Linked DNA regions of Homo sapiens: regions 1 and 2 are each linked to region 3. Evidence: promoter capture Hi-C in human tissues and cell types (Jung and others, 2019). All regions are on one chromosome and are shown on one strand. The core of a region is centred on a gene start or on the middle of the fragment in contact, and the rest is flanking DNA. Distances in the headings are between cores, read along the strand shown. Region 1 holds the start of DGAT1 (diacylglycerol O-acyltransferase 1). Region 2 has its middle 17 kb from the start of ZNF252P-AS1. Region 3 holds the start of ARHGAP39 (Rho GTPase activating protein 39).

The links. The method cuts DNA at HindIII sites, captures the fragments that hold promoters and counts their contacts. A contact is called where the count stands out against the background at its distance.
Region 1: the fragment with the promoter of DGAT1 here is called in contact with the fragment with the promoter of ARHGAP39 in region 3 in 6 of the 25 tissues and cell types used here (aorta, dorsolateral prefrontal cortex, heart left ventricle and 3 more).
Region 2: a contact is called between a fragment that was not itself captured here and the fragment with the promoter of ARHGAP39 in region 3, in 4 of the 25 tissues and cell types used here (dorsolateral prefrontal cortex, lymphoblastoid cells, mesenchymal stem cells and 1 more).

What each region holds. Positions count from the first base shown.
Region 1 is chr8:144,324,944-144,329,508 of GRCh38, reverse strand. It overlaps DGAT1 (diacylglycerol O-acyltransferase 1), which reads left to right and starts at 2,657. Exons shown (of 17, transcript NM_012079.6): 1 at 2,657-3,072. The coding sequence starts at 2,873. RefSeq lists silencers at 2,231-2,950, 2,961-3,030. The HindIII fragment of the contact is 53,552 bases long and covers 1-4,565 here.
Region 2 is chr8:145,017,992-145,022,519 of GRCh38, reverse strand. It overlaps the pseudogene LOC124902043. Among named protein-coding and RNA genes, the nearest start is that of ZNF252P-AS1, 17 kb to the right of the region's middle. The HindIII fragment of the contact is 6,395 bases long and covers 1-4,528 here.
Region 3 is chr8:144,683,130-144,687,935 of GRCh38, reverse strand. It overlaps ARHGAP39 (Rho GTPase activating protein 39), which reads left to right and starts at 2,090. Exons shown (of 12, transcript NM_025251.3): 1 at 2,090-2,250. RefSeq lists enhancers at 1-586, 1,773-2,384, 2,998-3,610, 3,611-4,223. The HindIII fragment of the contact is 13,771 bases long and covers 1-4,806 here.

The DNA.
Region 1 (4,565 bases), core at 1,408-3,907, 360 kb after region 3:
TGGAAGGATGGAGGTGGCCTCCCTGAGGCCTGGGATGAGCTCGACCCCCCAGTTCCTCCCAGCCACAGACACAAGTTTCCCTCTGAATGAGCAGCACAGGCCATAGACCACCACTGGCTGTGAACTCTCCTGGGACCCTTGCTTCTCACAGGCCTTCTTGGCCCACCCATGGCCCCTAGGCCCTGGGATCAGCCTGAGGCCCCAACCCACTTCCAGCCCTTTATTCCACTAGCCCTGGAAGGCAACTCGCTTCGGGCTTGGGCCCCCTCATTTGTTGCTGCCCCCAGCAGGGTGATCTGCATCATGCTTTCCTCGATGACCCAGCCATACACACCCTTGTCCCCAACCAACCTCACCTACCCTGACCATTCCCCTCACCCTAGATCCCAGGGTATAGGGCCTGTCTGGGCAGGGCTTCACCCACCTCTGGAGCTGCTGCCCCGCCACGCCCCCACCCCCGGTGGCAAAGCCCTTCCTTAATGGCCCGCCCACAGCCAGTGCTTTCCCCATTGGCTCCAAGCCTGGCTCTGCTCACCAGGCCCGACCCATCCTCCCTGGTGGTCCAGTCCACCCTCCCATTGTCTTTCTCCTGTGGCCACTTGCCGGCTTTGAGTTGGGACGCGACCACAGGTTGAGTCGTTGATCTCCTCTGCCTAGCATGAGGTGCTCCGTGGCCAGGTCCAGACCTCTCTGAGCTTGCTGTCAGTCCATACTCAGACAGGTCTGGGCCTACCTGGCCACAGAGTGTGTCTGCCAGCGACTGCATTCAACAAATGAATATTCTGAGAGACTGGGTAGGAGATGGGGCTGGTCCTGACCGACCAAGGCCCATGTGTGAGGGGCTCTTGGGTCCAGTGAGGGCGGCCCCACTCGGCAGGCTACACAAAGGGCATCTGCCAGGTAGCTCCAGCCTGCCTGATACCTGGTTGGCAGCAACCCACAGCGGCCTGTGGTGACAAGAATATGTCACCAGGGGGGCAACCAAGGGGGCAGCCCTGCTGGCCACTGTTGGTGGAGGTGGTGGAAGAGGACGGAGCTCAGAGGCGAGGCTGTGACCAGCCCACGGGAGAGGACCCCACCTCAGGAGGAGCACCTGTTTGCTTCCAGAGAAGTGCTGCTTGCCCCTGCTCACCCCAGAGGAATGAAGGTGTTTCTAGAGTCAGAGTCCTCAGTGAACCCTGGCATCCTGAGATCCAGGATGTTCTCACTCCATGCCCTGTGCAATATGCACACCAAGCCAAGGTGGGCCGCAACTGTGGCTGTTACAGTTGATTAGTTGCTTCATTTAACATACAAGATGTCTGGGGCAGTGGCTCATACCTGTAATCCCAGCACCTTCAGAGGCCGAGGTGGGAGGATTGCGTGAGGCCAGGAGTTCGAGACCAGCCTGGGCAGAATAGCGAGACCCCCATCTTTAGAAAAAATAACAACAGGCCAGGCGCGGTGGCTTGCGCCTATAATCCCAGCACTTTGGGAGGCCGAGGTGGGCGGATCACGAGGTCAGGAGATCGAGACCAGCCTGGCCAATATGGTGAAAGCCCGTCTCTACTAAAAACAGAAAAATTAGCTGGGCGTGGTGGCACGCGCCTGTAGTCCTGGCTACTCGGGAGGCTGAGGCAGGAGAATCGCTTGAACCCAGGAGGTGGAGGTTGCAGTGAGACGAGATCGCGCTACTGCACTCCAGCCTGGCGACAGAGTGAGACTGTCTCAAAAAAAGAAAAAAGAAAACAAAAAACAACAGGGCGGTTGCACAGGCCGTGCAAATGCACAGAAGCCTCTTGAGTCCCGGCGATCCAGCGGCCCAGACTTCTGACATCCTGGAGAGGCTGGCCCACGTTGGAAACTGGGAGGCCCTGAGAGTTGAGGGACGTGGAGCTCCTTGTGGAGAGAGTGGGTGGGCTGAGAAGACACCACCAAGGGGCCTGCGCCCTCGCCCTCGCCCTCGCCCTCCTCTCGCCGGGCTCTGCAGGCGGGGAGGTGGAGAGCCTGGGAGTCGCGTGCAAGGCAGGCGTCCCGGTGACGCAGGGCCTGGTGCATTTCTCCAGCTTGGTCTTCTGACCTGGCCCTTGTCTGACGTCCCCCTAAGGCGAAGAAAAGCAGGTTCCTGCCGGGGTAACCAGAGGGCTCGCGGAGCAGAAGCGCGCCAGGGACGTTACTGTAAGCTGCGTGCGCAGAAACCAACGCGCTGGGTGGCGGGCGACGCGAGCCGCCGCGGACACCGGCCCGGACAGCTGGACCGTGGCGCACTAGGCGCTTCCTAAATGATTGCCCGGAGTGACTCGCCGAGACCCCGTGTGTACACAAGTGGGACGAGGGGCGGGCGCACAGCGGCCAGGAAGTCGGGGCCCAGCGCACCCCTCAGCGGACCATCCCGCTCCGTGGGGCCGGACAGGACCCCGGGACCACGCGGGAGCGATGCAAGGTCCGTTCCCGCTGCGCGCACTTGCGGCCCGCAGCCCCGGCCCTGGGAGCTGCCACGGCTCCCAGGGTGCTCTGCGCCGGTGCGGCCGCGGCGACTACGACTCCCAGGGTGCTCTGCGCCGGCGCGCCCGCGGCGACTACGACTCCCAGGGTGCCCTGCGCCCCGTCAGCCTCTCCAGGCCCCGCCTCAGGTCGGCCGCGGACTACAAATGGACGAGAGAGGCGGCCGTCCATTAGTTAGCGGCTCCGGAGCAACGCAGCCGTTGTCCTTGAGGCCGACGGGCCCGACGCGGGCGGGTTGAACGCGCTGGTGAGGCGGTCACCCGGGCTACGGCGGCCGGCAGGGGGCAGTGGCGGCCGTTGTCTAGGGCCCGGAGGTGGGGCCGCGCGCCTCGGGCGCTACGAACCCGGCGGGCCCACGCTTGGCTGCGGCCGGGTGCGGGCTGAGGCCATGGGCGACCGCGGCAGCTCCCGGCGCCGGAGGACAGGGTCGCGGCCCTCGAGCCACGGCGGCGGCGGGCCTGCGGCGGCGGAAGAGGAGGTGCGGGACGCCGCTGCGGGCCCCGACGTGGGAGCCGCGGGGGACGCGCCAGCCCCGGCCCCCAACAAGGACGGAGACGCCGGCGTGGGCAGCGGCCACTGGGAGCTGAGGTAGCGGAGCGCCTGACCCCCTAACCTCTGACCCAAGGGCCCCGCGACTTTCCGGGGTTGGCCGAAGCGCGAGCTCCGAGTCCGAGAACATGGGCCCTGGGCTAAGCGGGGATCGGTGTGCCCTATGGGCCCTGTGGGGAAACTGAGGCTTGGGGAGAGTCACCTGACAAGGTCACTGGGTAGGGGCTCTGGAGCTGGCCTTGGCCAGGCAGAGGGGAGCCGGCAGGTGTCCCGCATCCAGATCCTCTTGGGTCTGTGCATCCTCAGGGGCTCCTGAGGAGCTTTTCGAGGGGCGGGCTGGTGGGGGCCCGGCCCTGGACAGTGTCCCCTTATATGGAAGGAGTCAGATAAGATCTGGGCAGTTTGTGGTGATAGGTTCCTTCTTGGTGCTATGAGCGGTGCCTTGCGGGTAGGAAAGGCTCCCAGAGGAGGGCTGGCCTGCCAGGGAGGGGGCCAGAGGAGCCCAGGCCTGTCCGAGGACAGGGGAATCAGCAGCTGCCCCGGACAAGGGGCAGTGTTAGAGGCGTTCTTGTCCTTGCAGACCCTTCTGAGAGTGGCTGCGTGGCCCATTCATTGCTCCAGTGGTTAGGCTGGCCTGGAGCCCTGCCGATGTTGCCAGAGCCAGCGTCTGTTGTAGGGACAGAGAGTTGGGTTCTGTGTTGGGACTTCCATCCTCCAGGTGGGGAGTGGGGTATGGGGGTGGTGGACACACCTGCAGGCGTGTGCCCTGCTCAGCTGGATGACTGACAGAGAGGGGTGGAGGGAGAGAACCATGGCCGATGGGAAGGACTTGGCCAGCCTGGGCATTGGCTTCCTCCACCAAGCTGGCCTTGAGCAATCCCCTTGCCACCCTCCATCCCCCCTTTATGGCCTTTACCCTGGCCCAGGGGCCCTCAGGGCTTTGTTTTAGAGAGCAGCTGAGGGCCTAGAGGTTATCAAGGCAGAAGTGGGCTGATTTTGGACATGTAGTTGGCAATGATTTGCTCTCTCAGTGAGCAAGAACAGAGCTTTCCTTCACGGGGCACCATGGGGAGGGGGTTGGGGGAGGGCAGGCACTGTCGTGGCCCTCAGGGTGCTCAGTTCATCTGGGAGATAAGATAACCTCAGCGAGAGTCAGGCATGGAGCAACATGGACAAAGGTCGGGCACGGAGGCCTTGAAGGGGCCGTGGGGAGGAGGGTGGCCCTCCTGAGAGGGGTGCTTGCCTGCTGTGGGCCTGGGGTGCTGGTGAGGGAGGCTGGCCTAGGCACCTCCTACCTGAAAAGGAGGTGTGGCTCCTGGAGTTACCCTCTCTCCAGGAGGCAGGGGGATGGCTACATGACCTGTGGAGGACGTGGGAATTGAGATTTCTTTTTTTTTCTTTTCTTTTTTTTTGAGACTAGTTTTGCTCTTGTTGCCCAGGCTGGAGTAAAATGGCACATTCTTGGCTCACTGCAACCTCTGCCTCCCAGGTTCAAGTGATTCTCCTGCCTCAGCCTCCAGAGTAGCTGGGAT
Region 2 (4,528 bases), core at 930-3,429, 330 kb before region 3:
AAAACATCCAAAGCCCAGTTAAATTTGGTGCCAGAAACTGAGGCAATGGAAAAAGCTGTTGATAGCCTCACGAATCTTAAACCTGTCACTTGGGTTAAAACCATTGGAAATTCCACTATTGCAAATTTTGTATTAATCCTTGTATGTCTGTCCTCTCTATTGTTAGTCTACAGGTGTATCCAGCAGCTCCGGAGAGACAGCGGCTAGCGAGAACGGACCATGATGATGATGGCGGTTTTGTCAAAAAGAAAAGGGGGATATGTAGGGAAAAGAGAGAGAGATCAGACTGTTACTGTGTCTATGTAGAAAGGGAAGACATAAGAGACTCCATTTTGAAAAAGACCTGTACTTTGAACAATTGCTTTGCTCAGATGTTGTTAATTTGTAGTTTTGCCCCAGCCACTTTGACCCAACCTGGAGCTCATAAAAACATGTGTTGTATGAAGTCAAGGTTTAAGGGATCTAGGGCTGTGCAGGATGTGCCTTGTTAACAAAATGTTTACAAGCAGTATACTTGGCAAAAGTCATTGCCATTCTCTAGTGTCAACAAACCACAGGCATAATGCACTGCAGAAACCCACAGGGAACTCTGCCCTTGAAAGCTGGGTATCGTCCAAGGTTTCTCCCCATGTGATAGTCGGAAATATGGCCTCATGAGATGAGAAAGACCTGACTGTCCCCCAGCCCGACACCCGTAAAGGGTCTGTGCTGAGGTGGATTGGTAAAAGAGGAAAGCCTCTTGCAGTTGAGATAGAGGAAGGCCACTGTCTCCTGCCTGCCCCTGGGAACTGAACGTCTTGGTATAAAACCCGATTGTACATTTGTTCAATTCTGAGATAGGAGAAAAACCGCCCTATGGTGGGAGGTGAGACATGTTGGCAGCAATGCTGCCTTGTTATTCTTTACTCCACTGAGATGTTTGGGTGGAGAGAAACATAAATCTGGCCTATGTGCACATCCAGGCATAGTACTTTCCCTTGAACTTAATTATGACATAGATTCCTTTGCTCACATGCTTTTTGCTGACCTTCTCCTTATTATCACCCTGCTCTCCTACTACATTCCTTTCTGCTGAAATCATGAAAATAATAATCAATAAAAACTGAGGGAACTCAGAGACCGGTGCCGGTGCAGGTCCTTGGTGTGCCGAGTGCCGCTCTCCTGGGCCCACTGTTGTTTCTCTATACTTTGTCACTGTGTCTTATTTCTTTTCTCAGTCTCCCATCCCACCTGACTAGAAATACCCACAGGTGTGGAGGGGCAGGCCACCCCTTCAGATTATCAAGAACTCCAATGAAGCCAGCTAAATCTATTTGCCAATTGACTGAATTAACAAAGGCTTTCCAAATCTGATTTTTATTCATTGGAACTATAATCTTATCTGGATCTGAGCCACAAAGTTTAACAACTCTAAGGTGAGCTTGCCCAATCAAGATTGCCATCTGATCCAAGTATACTGTGAGTGTTCTAACAGTATTGTGAGGCAGAAAAGACCATTCAACTAAGTCCTCACTCTGAACTGTAACCCCTGTAGAAGAATGGAGAGTAGGGAACACAATGAACTGTAATGGTAAATTTGAGTCTATTCTATTAACCTGGGCCTGTTGTATTTTTTCTTCAATCATTTGTAATTCTTTGGCAGTCTCAGGAGTCAGTTCTCATTTACTATTGAGAGCAGGGTCACCTCTTAAAATAGAGAACAGATTAGACATAGCATAGGTAGGGATTCCCAAAGGAGGTCAAATCCAATTGATATCCCCTAATAATTTTTGAAAATCATTTAAAGTTTTCAGAGAGTCTTTTTGAATTTGAACCTCTTGGGGTCTAATTGCCCTTTCCTGATCCTGCATTCCCAAATATTGGAAAGGAGTGGATGTTTGAATTTTATCTGGTGCTATGAGCAATCCAGCATTGGCTACCACCTCCTGTAAATATGAATAACACTGGATAAGTCAGTCTTAACTTTTGACCGTACCCAATATGTCATCCATAAAATGAATGATATATGAATCAGGAAACTGATCTCTCACAGGTGGAATAGCCTTCCCCACAAAAGTTTGACAAATAGTAGGACTATTCAACATATCCTGCAGCAGGACTTTCCAATGATATCTGGCTGCTGGTTCCTTGTTGTTCATAGCAGGAATAGTAAAAGCAAATTTCACAAAATCAGACTCTGCTAGAAGAATATTTAAAAAGCAATCCTTCAAATCTATAATTACTAATGGCCAGTCTCTAGGAATCATGGTGGGGGATAGAAGCCCCAGCTGCAGGGCCCCAATCAGCTGAATGAATGTGTTCACCACACGTAAGTCGGTTAGCATGCGCCATCTGCTGGATTTTTTCTTTATTACAAACACCGGCAAATTCTATGGAGAAAATGTGGGCTCAATGCTTCCTTTGTTTAATTGCTCTTTGACTAATTCCTGTAAGGCCCCCAATTTTTCCTGAGTAAGTGGCCACAGCTCAACCCAAACAGGATTTTGGGTCTTCCATTTTAAGGGAATAGGACTTGGAGGCTCAACAGTGACCACCCCTAAAAATGGTAACCTACATGGGAGGTTCCAAGATGGCCAAATAGGAACAGTTCCAGTCTAGAGCTCCCAGCATGAGCGATGCAGAAGACAGGTGATTTCTGCATTTCCAACTGAAATACCAGGTTCATCTCACTGGAGCTTGTCAGACAGTGGGTGCAGGACAGTGGGTGCAGCCCACCGAGTGAGACCTGAAGCAGGGCAAGGCACCACCTCACCTGGGAAGTGCAAGGGGTCAGGGAATTCCCTTTCCTAGCCAAGGGAAGCTGTGACAGATGGCACCTGGAAAATCGGGTCACTCCCACCCTAATACTGTGCTGTTCCAATGGTCTTAGCAAATGGCACACCAGGAGATTATTTCCTACACCTGGCTTGGAGGGTCCCACACCCATGGAGCCTTGCTCATTGCTAGCACAGCAGTCTGAGATCGAACTGCAAGGTGGCAGCAAGGCTGGGGGAGGGGCGCCCACCATTGCTGAGACTTCAGTAGGTAAACAAAGCGGCTGGGAAGCTTGAACTGGATGGAGCCCACTGCAGCTCAAGGAGGCCTACCAGCCTCTGCAGACTCCACCTCTGGGTGCAGGGCATAGCTGAACAAAAGGCAGCAGAATCTTCTGCAGACTTAAATGTCCCTGTCTGACAGCTTTGAAGAGAGTAGTGGTTCTCCCAGCATGGAGTTTGAGATCTGAGAACAAACAGACTGCCTCCTCAAGTGGCTCCCTGACACCTGAGTACCCTAACTGGGAGGCACCTCCCAGTAGGGGCTGACTGATACCTCACACGGCCGGGTACCCCTCTGAGATGAAGCTTCCAGAGGAATGATCAGGCAGCAACATTTGCTATTCTGCAATATTCGCTATTCTGTAGCCTCTACTGGTCATATCCAGGCAAACAGGATCTAGAGTGGACCTCCAGCAAACTCCAACAGACCTGCAGCTGAGGGTTCTGACTATTAGAAGGAAAACTAACAAACAAAAAGTACATCCACACCAAAACCCCATCTGTACGTGACCATCATCAAAGACAAAAGGTAGATAAAAACACAAAGATGGGGAGAAGCCAGAGCAGAAAAGCTGAAAATTCTAAAAATCAGAGCACCTCTTCTCCTCCAAAGGAATGCAGCTCCTCACCAGCAATAGATCAAACCTGGATGGAGAATGACTTTGATGAGTTGAGAGAAGAAAGCTTCAGATGATCAAACTTCTCTGAGCTAAAGGAGGATGTTTGAACCCATCACAAAGAAGCTAAAAACCTTGAAAAAAGATTAGACGAATGGCTAACTGAATAACCAGGGTAGAGAAGACCTTAAATGACCTGATGGAGCTGAAAGCCATGGCACGAGAACTACATGTGCAAGCTTCAGTAGCTGATTCAATCAACTGGAAGAAAGGGTATCAGTGATTGAAGATCAAATGAATGAAATGATGTGAGAAGAGAAGTTTAGAGAAAAAAGAGTAAAAAGAAATGGAACAAAGCCTCCAAGAAATATGGGACTATGTGAAAAGACCAAATCTACATCTGATTGGTGTACCTGAAAGTGATGGGGAGAATGGAACAAAGTTGGAAAACAGTTTTCAGGATATTATCCAGGAGAATTTCCTCAACCTACCAAGGCAGGCCAACATTCAAATTCAGGAAATACAGAGAATGCCACAAAGATACTCCTCAAGTAGAGCAACTCCAAGACACATAATTGTCAGATTCACCCAAGTTGAAATGAAGGAAAAAATGTTAAGGGCAGCCAGAGAGAAAGGTCGAGTTACCCACAAAGGGAAGCCCACCAGACTAACAGTGGATCTCTCAGCAGAATCTCTACAAGCCAGAAGAGAGTGGAGGCCAATATTCAACATTCTTAAAGCAAAGAATTTTCAACCCAGAGTTTCATATCCAGCCAAACTAAGCTTCATAAGTGAAGGAGAAATAAAATCCTTTACAGACAAGCAAATGCTGAGAGATTTTGTCACCACTGGGCCTGCCTTACAAGAGCTCCTGAA
Region 3 (4,806 bases), core at 841-3,340:
GTGGGAAGTGCTCACCGCCAGTGTGTGGTCACGGGGTGGGAAGTGTTCACTGTAAATGTGTGGTCACGGGGTGGGAAGTGCTCACTGCTAGTGTGTGGTCACGGGGGTGGGAAGTGCTCACCGCCAGTGTGTGGTCACGGGGTGGGAAGTGCTCACCGCCAGTGTGTGGTCACAGGGGTGGGAAGTGCTCACTGTAAATGTGTGGTCACGGGGTGGGAAGTGCTCACCGCTAGTGTGTGGTCACGGGGTGGGAAGTGCTCACTGCTAGTGTGTGGTCACGGGGGTGGGAAGTGCTCACCGCCAGTGTGTGGTCACGGGGTGGGAAGTGCTCACCGCCAGTGTGTGGTCACGGGGTGGGAACTGCTCACCGCCAGTGTGTGGTCACGGGGTGGGAAGTGCTCACCGCCAGTGTGTGGTCACGGGGTGGGAAGTGCTCACCGCCAGTGTGTGGTCACAGGGGTGGGAAGTGCTCACCGCCAGTGTGTGGTCACGGGGTGGGAAATGCTCACCGCCAGTGTGTGGTCACGGGGTGGGAAGTGCTCGCCGCCAGTGCGTGGTCACAGGGGTGGGAAATGCTCGCCGCCAGTGCGTGGTCACAGGGGTGGGAAGTGCTCGCCGCCAGTGCGTGGTCACGGGGTGGGAAGTGCTCGCCGCCAGTGCGTGGTCACGGGGTGGGAAGTGCTCACCGCCAGTGTGTGGTCACGGGGGTGGGAAATGGTCGCCGCCAGTGTGTGGTCACGGGGGTGGGAAGTGCTCGCCGCCAGTGTGTGGTCACGGGGGTGGGAAATGCTCGCCGCCAGTGCGTGGTCACGGGGGTGGGAAATGGTCGCCGCCAGTGTGTGGTCACGGGGTGGGAAGTGCTCGCCGCCAGTGCGTGGTCACGGGGGTGGGAAGTGCTCGCCGCCAGTGCGTGGTCACGGGGGTGGGAAATGGTCGCCGCCAGTGTGTGGTCACGGGGGTGGGAAGTGCTCGCCGCCAGTGCGTGGTCACAGGGGTGGGAAATGGTCGCCGCCAGTGTGTGGTCACGGGGGTGGGAAGTGCTCGCCGCCAGTGTGTTGTCACAAGTTTAAGGTGAAGGCAGTCAGCCTGGATGTGTGATTTTCTTCAGCAGTCATGGAGGAGAAGGGTTGGGCTCGCCCAGTTGGGTTTTCTAAGTGAATACAGTGGAGAGGGAGCGGGAGGCGAAAAAGCAGAGCCCTGTGTATAAGAGTGAAGAGTGAAGTGTGACGACGGCCCAACAGGGAAGCGCGGGCGGCGAGACAGCCCGACGGGAGATCTCCTGAGGCGGGAGAGTCCCTGCAAGGCGACTGAGCTGCAGGGCAGGAGGTGGAGCTCCACGGATGACTTTTGACGGGGGCCTTTCAGCCCTTTGCGGCTTCTCACAGTTGAGGACCCAGGGAATGTCCAGGACTGAAGGGTGTGCGCCCCTGTCTTCTACTATCGAAGCTTCAGGCTGTTTAGCCTCCGTTTCTCCAGAAATGCCAGTCAGATTCAATTTCCAGAAACGCACCTGGCACTAAGAGAATCTAGAAAACCAGGCTGAACGCAGATTAGAAAACGCCGAATAGAGCACTAGTCGAGCTGCAGCTGAGTGAATTACCGAGTAAAAGTGACAGGACTAAAAAGGTGAGAATAACAGGAGGTGAAGAGACACGAGCCCGCCACAAGAAGGACTGAGGAACAGGGCAGCCCACGTTTTGAGAAGAATGGCTGTATTTCTAGAGTCGAAGAAAAGTGAAATCTCAGACTCGGGAAGCCCAACGTGGTTTGAGAGGGCAAAATTACACCAAACCACACCGAGACGTGTCAGATGGTAACTGCTCTGCACCGAAAGAGACGGGAAGACACCGCTAACTCACAGGGTAGGTCCGCGCGGGAGGCCTCTGGCGCGGCGACGGGGCGGGGCCAGGCGGCTCCCAGCATGCCGCGCGCGCCCTCCGCGGGACTCCGGCTCCCGGCATGCCGCGCGCCAGCGCATGCGTGATGCGGCCTCGCGAGGCAGTGCCCCCTGGCGGCGGGTAGTGACCGCCGCGGGGGCGGAGCCGGAGGCGGGGGGTTGCGCTTGGTGACGGGAGGACGCGCGGCCGCCGCGCACTGGGCCGGCGGCGGCGGCGGAGGACGCCGACAGCACGGGCTGCCGCGGCAGCAGCGGCGGAGCAGCAGAGAGGCCGGGGAGCGGCGGCTGGCTCACGCGCGTCGCGCGGGCCGGGATGAGGGACTGTGGCGGCGCGGCCCGCGCGCAGCCGGCCGGTGAGAGCGCGGGCAACGGGCGGTGGGCGGCGCGGGCCAAGAAGATGGCGGAGGGGCCGGCGCTGCGGTCCCCGTGGTCCTGGCCCAGCCTCGGCGGAGGCTCCAGGCCCGGCAGCGCAAGGAATCCAGGCCCGCGGCGACTGCAGCGGCGGGAGGGGCTGTGACTGGGCCGTGGAGGGAGGGGGCGTGGGTGTGCGGGGCCCGGCCGGGCGGGGGGCGCGGAGGCTCGAGGGGCCGAGGCCGCGCGGGGCCCGGGTGCGCGCCGACGGGCCGGGCTGGGAGTGTGAGGGTGGGTGAGTTCGCGTGTGCCCGGCCCGAAGTGGGTGTGACTGTACCCTGTCCAGAGTGAGTTGTGTCCCTGCCCTAGGTGGGTGTGAGTGTGCCCGGCCCCAATGTGGGTGTGGGTGTGCCCCTGTCCAGAGTGAGTGTGAGTGTGCCCCTGTCCACGGTGGGTATGAGTGTGCCCGGCCCGAGGGGAGTGTGGGTGTGTCCGGCCCCAGGGGGGTGTGAGTGTGCTCCTGCCCGAGGGAGGTGTGAGTGTGCCCGGCCCTAGATGGGTGTGAGTGTGCCCCTGCCCGAGGGGGGTGTGAGGGGACCCCGCCCGTGGTGGGTGTGGGTGCACGTGTGCCCAGCCTGAGCTCGGGGCACCGGCCGCATTCCCGGGCGCCGTCGGAGTGGGGACAAGGTGGATGCCCGCCGGTCGGGTCTGGTGCCCGCGTCCTGAAGGGCGGCCCGGGTGCAGGGCTGCGGTGCGCTGCGGTGCAGCCTCGGGCTTTGTCCCCGGGGCGCAGGGAGCGGACATGGGCGTCTCCAGGTGGGGTCATGGCCGCCTGCGGGTGGGCTCTGCGGCCTCGCCTCTGCGGCAGGCGCGGGCTGGGGCTCCGGCGCTCGGAGCCTTCCCCTCCCGGTTGCCCCCCGAGCTGGAATTCCCTCGGTTGCTTCCCGGTTGCTTCCCAGTTGCTGGAGTGCTGTGGGTGGAGGCGGCGTTCCGTGCCCAGGGCGGCGAGAGAGGCGGGCTGTGCATTTTGGGGCCCAGGACGTTTTTTATTTTAAAACGTGCAGCCGGCTCCTTGGCAGCTGTGGGTGTGTTCCGAGCCGCTTCCCACCAGCAGCTGCTGTGGGCGCTGCGCAGCTTCGGAAACGCAGCCGGGCCCCCTCCCCCTCAGTGCTGTACGGGTTTAACCAGACCTCCAGTGACCTCTGCTGAAAAACCTACAGTGGTGAGGCTTCTCGTGCCTCCTGGTACAACAATACGGAGATTTGTCTTTTGAAGCCAGTGAGGGGAATTGGACGCTGCGTCCTAGGTGCCCTCTATAGACAGCAGGTGGTTCCGTCGGCGGCGCCCGATCCACAAGGAGCAAGGTGCGATTCTCGCGCCGGGGGAGGGAAAGGCGATTTGATAGGAGGTGTGGCTGTAAATCGAGGAGACTCATTCCATAAACCGCCCTGGGCGCAGGCTCTGTAGCCATAAATGCTTGGAGTGAATGAATGGGGGTGGCGCCTCGCTCCCTGCACTTGGTGTAGCCAGCTGTCTTCCTGAGAGGCAGGGGAGCAGAGTGGACAGGAGGGCGGGTTCTGGAGCCAGGCTGCCCGCCTCTGAGTCGCGACTCTTCTGTTTACTGGCTTTGTGGTCTTCGGCAAGGTCTCTGTGCCTTTGGCTTCTCATCTGTAAAATGGGAACACTAATAATATTGGCCTCATAGGGTTGTTGTGAGGACTCAGTAAATTAAGACTTGTGAAACACTTTGTTCGTGGCACACTGTGTTTTAGAAAGTTAGGAATGGTTATTACTGCCAAGATCTGGTGCTTCCGGGGTGCATGTGCTGGGTCAGTGGGTCTTCAGTTTCTCCAGCACTGCCAATGTAATGTAAACTGGAAGTTTACATTAAGCTGGAAGTCTGTGGCGCTGGTTTCTCACACAAGAAAGCTGAGGTCATATTTGGATGAACACATGTTTATAAAGGTAAAAGAGAGACAAGCCTCACATACTTAGATGAATTATTATATAAGATTGTTTTAAGACGTTCTTAGAGAAAAATGGCCAGGTGCGGTGGCTCACACCTGTAATGCCAGCACTTTGGGAAGCTGGGGCGAGCAGATCGCTTGAGGTCAGGAGTTCAAGATCAGCCTAACCAACATGGTGAAACCCCGTCTCTACTAAAAATACAAAAATTAGCTGGGTGTGGTGGCTCACGCCTGTAGTCCTAGCTACTGGGGAGGCTGAGACAGAGAATCGCTTGAACCCAGGAGGCGGAGCTTGCAGTGAGCCAAGATTGTGCCACTGCACTCCAGCCTGGGTGACAGAGCGAGACTCTGTCTCAAAAAAAAAAAAAGAATATTTTATTTTATTTTATTTTTATTTTTAATTTTTGAGACAGAGTCTCGCTCTGTCGCCCAGGCTAGAGTGCAGTGGCACTATCTTGGCTCACTGCAAGCTCTGCCTCCTGGGTTCATGCCATTCTCCTGCCTCAGCCTCCCGAGTAGCTGGGACTACAGGCTCCTGTCACCACGCCTGGCTAATTTTTTGTATTTTTAGTAGAGACGGGGTTTTACTGT